4 separate regions of the Homo sapiens genome follow, and regions 2, 3 and 4 are each linked to region 1. The links are contacts of gene promoters, found by promoter capture Hi-C in human tissues and cell types (Jung and others, 2019). All regions are on one chromosome and are shown on one strand. The core of a region is centred on a gene start or on the middle of the fragment in contact, and the rest is flanking DNA. Distances in the headings are between cores, read along the strand shown.

Region 1 (2,580 bases), core at 21-2,520:
CCCCCATGAGATATAGGATAAGGTCATGGGTAAATAAGGGGAGACTAGAGTCAGCCTGCCTAGGTTAGAATTCCAATTCCATCACTCACTAGCTGTGTGACCTTGGGCAAGTTACTTAAGCTCTTTGAGTCTGTATCCCCATCTGTAAAATGGGGATAATAATTGCAGCTATTTCATAGAGTAGTTATGAGGATTGAATTGGATAATTCGTATAAAACATAGCACCAGGCCTGGCACATAGTGAGTGTTCAGTAAATGCTAGCTGGCATTATTGTGATGATGATGTATGCATCCATGCAAGCATTATGCATGCCTCCATCCAATCCCCTCCGAGAGCTTTTACTTGCACATGCCAGTGATGAGCAGCTCGCCGCCTCCTAAGCTGGTTGAGCAGCTCCAATTGTTACAAACTTCTTCCTATATCGAGCCCAAATTTGTCTTCTTGCAACCCCCACTCCCGCTGGCCCTAGTTCTGCCCTGTGGGGCCAAGCTAGAACAAGTCTATCCTACCTCCACCTGACAGCCCTTCAGCTACGAAGACAGTGATCGAGTCCTTCCTCCGCCCTCCCCCTCCCCCTTCTCCAGCTTGAACATCCTCGGTTTCTTCTCCCAACCCACAACAGACTGGCTGCGCTTACTATTTACTCCGAGGCGTTGTACGGTTTCCCTCGCACATAGTCATGCAGGCCACACACCCCACTGCCAACACAACAAACCCGACCCTCGTGCTCGGCCCCCGCCCGCTGCCCCTGTCCGCGGTGCTGAAGCAGCTCCCGGCCTCGGCGGCCCTCGGCGAGGCCCTCCCCAGCCCCCGCCCTGGGCCGCGCCAGCCCGGACCCAAGGCGCGGACCCCCGGCGCGCCGCCTCCGCGACCTCGGCAGTAGGTGCGGCCCGGCCCAGGCCCGTCCCCGGTGCCGCCCCCCGCCCTGCCCGGATGCCCCGAGCCCGCGCCCCGGCCCCGCGCGCCAGCCCCACCTGCCCGGCGAAGGGCGCCTCCGCCTCGTCCGCCCGCGCCACCGCCACCGCCACCGCTGCCCGGTTCCCTGCCCCCGCCGCCGCCGCCGCCGCCCGCGCGGCGCCCGGGAGGCAGCAGAGCGCGGGCAGCAGCAGCAGCAGCAGCCGCCCAGGGACCCGCCAGCGGCTCCAGCGCGGGGCCTGGCCCGGCGGCGGCGGCGGCGGCGGCGGCCCCGGCGCGGCGCGGCCGCCCCGGCTCCTCGGCATCCCGGCGGCGGGGCCCGCGCCCGGCCCGCCTGCCTTCGCCGCCGCCGCCGCCGCCTCGGCCGCCAGCGCGCCCCCGCCTCCGCGCGCCCCGCCCCGGTGGGGGGCGGCCGGGGGCGCGGGGGCAGCACCCGGGCGGGACCTGCGAGGGCAGTGGCTCCCCGACCAGCCCTGGGGCAGGGGCCGCGGAGCGGCGCTGGGGAGGGGGTTGCAGAGGCTAAAAGAACAGTTCTAGAGGCAGGGTCCGAAGGGGTGGAACTGGAGGTCGGGGTCTGGGGGTAGCCCTGAGCAGGAGGGGGAAGAGGCTAAATCAGTAATCCTGGAGGTAGAACAACTGGATGGCCCTGGGGGAACATATCCGGGGTTGGGGGTCCGGAACCCTGGGGAGAGGGTCCTAGGGAGTGGCATTGGAGGAGAGGGGGCCTGAGAGGCAGCCTGGGGGAGGAGACTGAGGAGCGGCTCTGGGGTAAAGGCGGGGTTCGAGAGCAAGCTAAAGAAATAGCCCTGGGTCTGAGAGGGTGACTCCGGAGAGGGAGCTCTGAGTGGCTCTCCTGGGCCGGGGTGGTGGGGGAAAGGGGTAGAGAAGACCTGAGGAGCGTTTAAGAGGGGGCATTCCTGTGAGACATTAGGTGAAGTTGAGGTGAAGCTCAGTCCCTCACCCCTAGAGGGAAAGAGCTCATCCAGCTGGGAAGATCATCTTTCATCCAAAACAACCCATATTTATCAAGCGCTTTCTATTTGTAGGGCTCTGGGCTACTTGGGATGCTGAAAGGAAAAAAAAAAACACCCAAAAACAAAAACAAAAAAGAGAAGGCCGATTTCCTGGAGTGCAGAGGTTTACAGCTTGATGAGAAAACATAAACGCAAAGAAAAACAGAATGGCAAACACCACGTGTCAACAAGGATACAGGCGGCTGCTCCAGGGGTCGAGGGAGACCTGATGAGGGGCTGGGGAAGTTAGGAAAAAGTGTAATGGAGGAGGGTGGGACTCTAGCTAGGACCTGAAGGAAAGGCTGGATTTAAACCAGGGGAGGGGAGAGGAGAGGGCATTTCAGGGAGGAAGTTGAGGGTGTACAGGATGTGCCTGAGGCGGCAGATAAGTTTCTCTGGAGCACAGGGTTCCTATAGGAAAGTGTTGGGAAGTGAGGGAAGTTGTACAAGACAGTGAATGCTAGGATAATAAATTTGGGTTGTGTTCTGAAGGAAAATGGGGGAGGGTGGTCATTAAAGGTTGTGTGTGTGTGGTGTGTGTGTGTGTATGTGTGTGTTTAAGCAGGATGATGTGTGAAAATAGTATTTTATGATTACGTGGTAATTTGGAGATGAAAAAAGGGCACAGGCTTTAGCGTCAGACCTATGTTC
Region 2 (2,580 bases), core at 47-2,546, 110 kb after region 1:
TGGGCTCAAGCAATCTTCCCACCTTAGCCTCCCGAGTAGCTGGGACAACTGGAGCATGCCACCATGCCTGGCTAATTTTCCTAATTTTGTATTTTTTGTTGAGATGGGATTTTGCCACGTTGCTCAGGGTGGTCTCAAACTCCTGAGCTCAAGCAGTCTGCCTGCCTTGGCCTCCCAAAGTGCTAGGAGGCATGAGCCACCGTGCCTGGCCAGGATGTACTATTTTATTTTATTTTGTTTATTTTTTTATTTTTATTATTTATTTTTTTATTTTATTTTTTATTTATTTTATTTTATTTATTTTTTATTTTTTTATTTTTATTTTATTTTATTTTATTTTATTTTTATTTATTTTCTTATTTATTTGGAGACAGGATCTCACTCATGCCCTGGCTGGAATGCAGTGGCATGATCTGAGCTCACTGAAGCCTCCACCTCCCAGGCTCAAGCGGTCATCCCACCCCAGCGTCCCAAGAAGCTGGGACCACAGGTGCATGCCACCATGCCTGGCTAAGTAAAATTTTAAATAAACAAAAATGGAGCGAACAGGACATCCATCCTTTGTGTGCTCATCACCCAATTTCAACAAACTAGCTTCAAAGATGATGAATTCATGGCCAACCTTATTTCATTTATATCCACACTAGATTATTTAGGATTCCAAACATTTTATTCCTAAAAGTATTTCAGAATGCATCCCCAAAGCATGCCTATAAAAATAAATCATTATTCCTTGATATCCTCTCCAATGTTCAAAATGTTTTGTTTCATAACTTTGTATTATAGTTTGTTTGCATCAGGACCCACATAGGGTTGATTTATATATTTGAAATTAGATGATATATCTCTGAAATGTCTTTTAATTTACAGGAATTCTTTCCCTCTCCCTCCCTCCCTCCTTTCCCACTCCTCCTCTATTTTCATTGCAGTTTGTTTGTTGAAGACAACAGTTGTATGTCCTGTAGGTTTCCATATTATGGATTTTGTTAATTGCATCTCTGAGGTATTTATTATATAACTGTTTTTTAAAGTTGATATTAAGATCTAGAGACATCATCAGATTTGGATTTTTACTTTTGTTTTTATTTTTATTTGTGTATTTATGTATTTTGAGACAGCGTCTCACCCTGTCACCCAGTGGGGTGATCACAGTTCACTGCAGCCTCACGGGCACAAGTGATTCTCCCGCCTCAGCCTCCCGAATAGCTGGGACTACAGGCCCACACCACCACACCTGGCTAATTTTTAAATTTTTTGTTTAGATGGGGTCTCGCTATGTTGTCTAGGCTGGTGTTTTTATTTTTCAAGAATAAGCACTGTTGTTTCTTTTGGTCAAGAGACACATGATGTCTCCTTGCCTGTTACTAACAGCCATTTGTTGGTCATTGCTTGGATCCATTATTTCAACAGGGGTTTCAAAATAGTGAGATTTTAATTAGTCTAGACTACTTCTCTTTTTTTTTTTTTTTTTTTTTTTTTTTGAGATGAAGTTTTGCTCTTGTTGCCCAGGCTGGAGTGCAATGGCTTGATCTCGGCTCACCGCAACCTCTGCCTCCCGGGTTCAAGCAATTCTCCTGCCTCAGCCTCCTAAGTAGCTGGGATTACAGGCATGCGCCACCACACCCAGCTAATTTTGTATTTTTAGTAAAGACAAGGTTTCACCATGTTAGTCAGGCTGGTCTCGACCTCCTGACCTCAGGTGATACACCTACCTTGGCCTCCCAAAGTGCTGGGATTACAGGTGTGAGCCACCATGCCCAGCCAAGGCTAGACTACTTCTCTAAAGAAAGACTTCCTCTCGTCAACTATTTGGGTTCCTTGGGGCACAGTTCATTCAGGAAAGCCAGGATAAATATTTGATTCTTAACTTTTATTTTTTATTTTCCAGAATAATGCATCATTTTCCTAGCATCTTCCAATTGTGACAATGAAGTTTTGTTTTTCAAGTATTGTGAACTCTTGGATTTAAACTCATTTGATGGTTTTCAGTTCATTGAAATTATTTTTCTTATCAAAGCTCAAATTGTCCCATTTCTGGCCAGTGGAAGCCTCTCTTCAAGTTAGCCCTGAGTCCTGTTAACACAACCCCAATAGTCTTTGATAGTGTCCTGCTTTCTGGTATTACAAGATGTTCCAAGCTCAGCTGATCCCGTTCCTATCCCAGCCCTGAATCAACTGTTTCTCTAAATAGCTCAGGAGGTGACTTTTAACCAGGAATTTGTCTGGCTTTATCTGCCAGCCTCATCTTTGCCCATGAACCTTGGCTAATTCAGCTGCTGATCATTTTCTTCAGTACCATGGCAAACCTCTGGCTACCTTGATAGGCAGGGATATACCTCCTGCCCTCTCTTCTATTACTTTGCCTCAAATAGAGACTCAGGCCTACACATAATTCCCCATAACCTAGACGAGAACTGCTATAACTTTGAAGAAGTCTTGACTGAAAACTGAGGCATAATGGAAGGAAATTACATCATCTACTAGCTAACAGCTACTATTAGCTATGACTACTCTTAGAACCACAGTCCACTTCATTATTCAGGCTTCTTTGTGGCCAAGGCCAGCTCATCCCCACACCCA
Region 3 (2,580 bases), core at 81-2,580, 93 kb after region 1:
GAATTTGCCACCCTGAGCAGCCTCACTGGTGACCCGGTGTTCGAAGATGTGGCCAGAGTGGCTTTGATGCGCCTCTGGGAGAGCCGGTCAGATATCGGGCTGGTAGGTTCGCTGCTGCCCTTCCTGTTTGAGTCCCTGCTTACGAGGCCCAGGGCTCTGAGCAATAAGTTGCAGTCAAGCCAAGGAAAACTTAGGGTGACCTTGGGAGTGGTCCAGGATTTGGGCTCAGGACACCAAAAATAGACCAAGCCTCCAATTCAAGTTTGGCTTGGAGTGGGGAGGAGAGTGGGAAAGCACGTTTCTGGCAGGCAGCAGGGGCTGCATTCAGCTTTGACCAGTTGAGATTCTCTGATTTCTAGGAAGAGGGTCGTATGTTTCATGCCCCTGACTCACTTGACGGCTTCAGATCATCAGCTCGTCCGGCCTTCATTTTTAGCGTCTATCTGTATTTGCTGTGTTTCTTAGGACACCGGTTCTGAGAGATACTGAGTGGCAGTTGCATGAAAAAATGAGTCTTGGCCAATTAAGTTAGGGGAATATTAGATATAATATCCCCCCCTTTTTTGGAGAGTCAGAATGCACATGAGCAGAATAAAAATCCTCTAGTAAAGAAATCTATTCAACTTTGTTTAATTTAACATTTCCCAAACTTATTTAACACCAGAGCTTCCCTTTATCTTCCAGTACTATTAACCCATGGAAATTGAACACACTTTGGACCAGATGATCTCTAAGGTCAGTTTCAGCTTCTAAATGGGATAATCAATAAGATTAACAGTAATTGAGCCAAAGCCATCCAGGACATAACACTGGATTTAGTCAGAACTGGATTCAAGCCCTGGCCTTGCTACATCGAAACTGTGTGACCCTGAGCAAGTCACTCAACCTCTCTGGTCCTCAGTTACTTCAGCAGTAACGTTAATATATTAATACCAACTTTGCTGAGTCACTCTGACTTAGGAAGACTGCATTTAGGTCTAGGCACATTTTATGCAGTCTGGTGCTAATCCAGCTTGAAAAGTAAAGCTTGTGTGAGGACTCCCCGAAAATCCCTTAAGAAGGTGCCCCCCTAAGGCTGGGTGCGGTGGCTCACGCCTGTAATTCCAGCACTTTGGGAGACTGAGGCGGGCGGATCACCTGAGATTGGGAGTTCGAGACCAGCCTGACCAACATGGAGAAACCCCATCTCTACTAAAAAATACAAAATTAGCCGGGCGTGGTGGTGCATGCCTGTAATCCCAGCTACTTGGGAGGCTGAGGCAGGAGAATTGCCTGAACCTGGGAGGTGGAGGTTGGGATGAGCCGAGATCGCGCCATTGCATTCCAGCCTGGGCAACAAGAGCGAAACTCCATCTCAAAAAAAAAAAAAAGGTGCCCCGCTGGAGACCTGTAGTAAATCCCTTAGTCCATCTCAGGCAGGTTTTGCTCCAGCAGTGGGACCGTAGTAGACTCTGTTGGTGCCATGCCCATATCCTCTCAACTCTTAACATTTCCATGCACACTGGCCAGTCTTCCAACTGCCATCACCTGCGCCTCTTTGCCTGTGGGTCTCCTCTGGTGCCTGGAGCCACTCTGCTTGCCTTTGGCTGAGGGTACCAGGATTTAATGCTACCCATGAGTAGCTCTCAAGCCGGTAACTGATACTGATGGGAGTTGGTGGATAAACATTCCAGTTCCCTGCCCCTTGGGTGGGATCACTCCGAAGCTGGAGCTCTACACTGAATTCCTAAGCTCCCCAGCAAGATTGAACTCCAGTTCCCATGGTGGAAACCTGCCTGATGGCATACCCCTTAAATGCCGCCTCCCTTGCCCTGCCTCACTTCCCCCTCCTCTACTGGTGTTTACAAGGACTTACCTTCCAAATCAACTACTTTCAGGCAGAATGAGGTTGTGCTCCTGGGGGGACACAAACCAACGCGGAACAGTTAGCTATTTCTTTGAGTACCAGATGAAGTTACCAGCTTCCATGAGGGTCTAAGCCATATGAAAAATACATATATTTGGCTGGGCGCAGTGGCTCACGCCTGTAATCCCAGCACTTTGGGAGGCCAAGGCAGGCGTATCACCTGAGGTCGGGAGTTCGAGACCAGCCTGACCAACAGGGAGAAACCATGTCTCTACTAAAAATACAAAAAATAAAATAAATACAATAAAATAGAAAAATACGTATCTTTGTTTATTTTTTTGAGACAGAGTCTCCCCCTGTCGCCCAGGCTGGAGTGCAGTGGCACGATCTCGGCTCACTGCAACCTCCCCCTCTTGGGTTCAAGTGATTCTCATGCCTCTGCCTCCTGAGTAGCTGGGATTATAGGCACACACCACCATGCCTGGCTAATTTTTGTGTTTTTATTAGAGACAGGGTTTTACCATGTTGGCCAAGTTGGTCTCGGACTTCTGACCTCCAGTGATTTTGCCCCCCTCAGCCTCCCAACGTGCTGGGATTATAGGCATGAGCCACCGCGCCTGGCCGGCATTGCCAATTTTTCACAGTCTCTACAGAGACTGAACAATTAAAAAAAAAAAAGTCAAAGGATACAAAAAAGGGTACTCAGTGACATTGGTGAAGTCCCCTTTTGCCCC
Region 4 (2,580 bases), core at 46-2,545, 77 kb after region 1:
CTGTTTTATTCTGCTTCATGGATGTTTCTGGGGGAAATTTGTGCAGTCGATGTGTGTTGAATTCTGTTTTCTGATTTTTTGCAATAACTGTATGGATCTGTTAATATTTTCCTTGTGCTGAGAGATAGTCTCACTCTTTCATCTTCCAGATATGGAAACTGAGTCCCCAAAAGGGAAAATGACTTGCCCGAGATCACACAGAGATAGTGGATAAACAAGTAACAAGACCAAGGGTTTCCGACAACCAGTCCAAGTCTTGTTCCACTGAACACAGAGTCCGAGGACATTGGCCTCAGATACTGATGTGATCTGAGCTCCCTCCAAACTCTATTCACCCACAGGGAAGACTTGAACACCCTATGATTCCAAGTATTCTCCAATTGACATCTTCCCCTTCTAACAAAATTGCAAGCACTTCAAGGGAAAGGACTATGACTTGATTATTTTGGAATCTTAGTTATATGCTCAGCACTGTGCCTCAAACTTTTGAGGGTAGGAACTATTGCCTATAACACCTTGGATGACTCGGGGCAGATGCTCAGTAAATGGAAACAACTGCCCTGCCTTAAAAAAAAAAGAAGAGTTGGGGAGGCAGGGAAGAGAATTAATATGTATCAAGAATTTAATATATACCAGTCACTGTGCTGAGAATGTTCACTTTCATTATCCCATTTAATTCCCAGAATTCCTTTATGGCCTCATCAATTTCTGTATTTTACAATAGGAAATTGAGTCTCAGAGAGGTAGGCAACTTACCCTGAGTCTCTTCACAAGTAAATGCTCAAGTGTGACACTTCACTGGTGGGTCATAACCTTCTAGAATCCAATATCATAAACACAGAGTGAGAGAAAGAAGAGTCCTGATACTTTCCAGAGGGTAAAACAATTTTTTTATTCTCATTAGAGAACATATAGTCACATGAATTGTGAAAACGTAAGTCATGGTTTTATTTGTTCAGTGACAGTGTGGAGAATGACATCAAGCTAGAAAAAGAATATAAAGGAAAATCATGAGTGTTTCAATCTTGCTCATAAAGAGAGACCTATCGTTACCAAATCCAGGCAACCTGAACCCACCCTTCCTGCAAAAGTTTTATCCACACTAGAATTTTGAATGGGAGACAAAAAGATAAGCTATAGGATTTATAATATGGAGAAGGTGAATTTCGTCACAGGGAAAGGCCCAGGTCTGAAAAATATTTAGTCCCTGCGCTAGGCTGGAAACAGCCACCTAAAGTCCAGGTCCTAATCTCTGGAAACTGTAAATGTTTCTCTATTTGGAAAAATGGTGTTTTTTTTTTTTTTTCCCCCTAGATGTGATTAAGTTAAAAATCTTGGAATGGGAGTTTATCCTGTATTATCTGGGTTGGGGGGGGCGCGGGGGGGGTCCTAAATGCAATTATAAATGTCCTTATAAGAGAAAAGCAGAAGGAGATGTGACACATCCACAGAGAAGGCGATATGAAGGCACGGGCAGATACTGGAGTGATACAACCATAAGCCAAGGAATGCCAGCAGTCAGGAGAATCTAGAGAGGCAAGGAACGGATTATCCCTTAGAGCCTTTGGAGTGGGTGTGGCCCTGTCAATAACTTAATTTTAGCCCAGTGAAATTGATTTCAGGCTCCTGACCTCCCAAACTGCGAGAGAATAAATTTCTGTTGCTTTAAGCCACTTGGTTTGTGGTAATTTGTTGCAGGAATCACAGGAAACGAATACAGTGCTCCTGTGTTGTTATCCAGGTCTCAGCTTACTGTCATCTCCTTTCCCTTCCATTTGGAAGCCCCAAGAAGAGTTTCTTTTTTTTTTTTTTTTTTGAGACAGAGTATCGCTCTGTCTCCCAGGCTGGAGTGCAGTGGCCTGATCTTGATCTTGGCTCACTACAACCTCCACCTCCCGGGTTCAAGCGATTCTCCTGCCTCAGCCTCCTGAGTAGCTGGGACTACAGGCGTCTGCCACCACTCCCGGCCAATTTTTGTATTTTTAGTAGAGACAGGGTTTCACCATATTGGCCAGGTTGGTCTTGAACTCCTGACCTCGTGATCCGCCCGCCTTGGCCTCCCAAAGTGCTGGGATTACAGGCGTGAGCCACTGCACCCGGCCAAGAAGAGTTTCTAAAAACATCCCAGGCTGGGTACAGTGGCTTATGCCTGTAATCCCAGCACTTTGGGAGGCCTGGCTGCACTCTGGCTCAACAAACTGAGCTATCACTTCCATCTGACTTTTTCAGCAAATAAGAGATAGCCAATCCTAGAATCATAGAAAGCTCGACCGAAAAGGATCTTAAAGATCCATTTGTTCAAACTCCTCATTATTTATAGACAAGGATGCTAGCCCCAGAGAAGGAGAGGGTCACATACACAGGTTATAGATGAGTGACAGAGTTGTAATTAACTGGATCCTAGATCTGACTTCAAATCCAGTGTTGGTTCTACCGCATGTCACACTGACCAAAGTCATGGGTGTTGCTGTGGTCTAAGGTGCTGACCAAATTTTAGAAACTTGGGAATAAGGGGAATGGAGAAATGGATCACAAACCTCCTGAAAGCTATAGTGCCCCAGGGTAGTCATTTGTCTTTTT

The links. The method cuts DNA at HindIII sites, captures the fragments that hold promoters and counts their contacts. A contact is called where the count stands out against the background at its distance.
Region 2: a contact is called between a fragment that was not itself captured here and the fragment with the promoter of MMP24 in region 1, in 2 of the 25 tissues and cell types used here (IMR-90 fibroblasts and lymphoblastoid cells).
Region 3: a contact is called between a fragment that was not itself captured here and the fragment with the promoter of MMP24 in region 1, in 2 of the 25 tissues and cell types used here (H1 embryonic stem cells and IMR-90 fibroblasts).
Region 4: a fragment that was not itself captured here is called in contact with the fragment with the promoter of MMP24 in region 1 in 2 of the 25 tissues and cell types used here (heart left ventricle and small bowel).

The regions. Positions count from the first base shown.
Region 1 is chr20:35,225,380-35,227,959 of GRCh38, reverse strand. It overlaps MMP24 (matrix metallopeptidase 24), which reads right to left and starts at 1,270. Exons shown (of 9, transcript NM_006690.4): 1 at 976-1,270. The coding sequence starts at 1,221. All of the region lies in intron 3 of MMP24-AS1-EDEM2 (MMP24-AS1-EDEM2 readthrough), which reads left to right. The HindIII fragment of the contact is 20,114 bases long and covers 1-2,580 here.
Region 2 is chr20:35,111,285-35,113,864 of GRCh38, reverse strand. No RefSeq gene overlaps it. Among named protein-coding and RNA genes, the nearest start is that of TRPC4AP, 20 kb to the right of the region's middle. The HindIII fragment of the contact is 9,872 bases long and covers 1-2,580 here.
Region 3 is chr20:35,132,260-35,134,839 of GRCh38, reverse strand. It overlaps MMP24-AS1-EDEM2 (MMP24-AS1-EDEM2 readthrough), which reads left to right. Exons shown (of 15, transcript NM_001355008.2): 10 at 1-102. It overlaps EDEM2 (ER degradation enhancing alpha-mannosidase like protein 2), which reads left to right. Exons shown (of 11, transcript NM_018217.3): 6 at 1-102. Among named protein-coding and RNA genes, the nearest start is that of EDEM2, 14 kb to the left of the region's middle. RefSeq lists an enhancer at 269-1,468. The HindIII fragment of the contact is 9,994 bases long and covers 1-2,580 here.
Region 4 is chr20:35,148,737-35,151,316 of GRCh38, reverse strand. All of the region lies in intron 5 of MMP24-AS1-EDEM2 (MMP24-AS1-EDEM2 readthrough), which reads left to right. Among named protein-coding and RNA genes, the nearest start is that of EDEM2, 2.7 kb to the right of the region's middle. The HindIII fragment of the contact is 8,464 bases long and covers 1-2,580 here.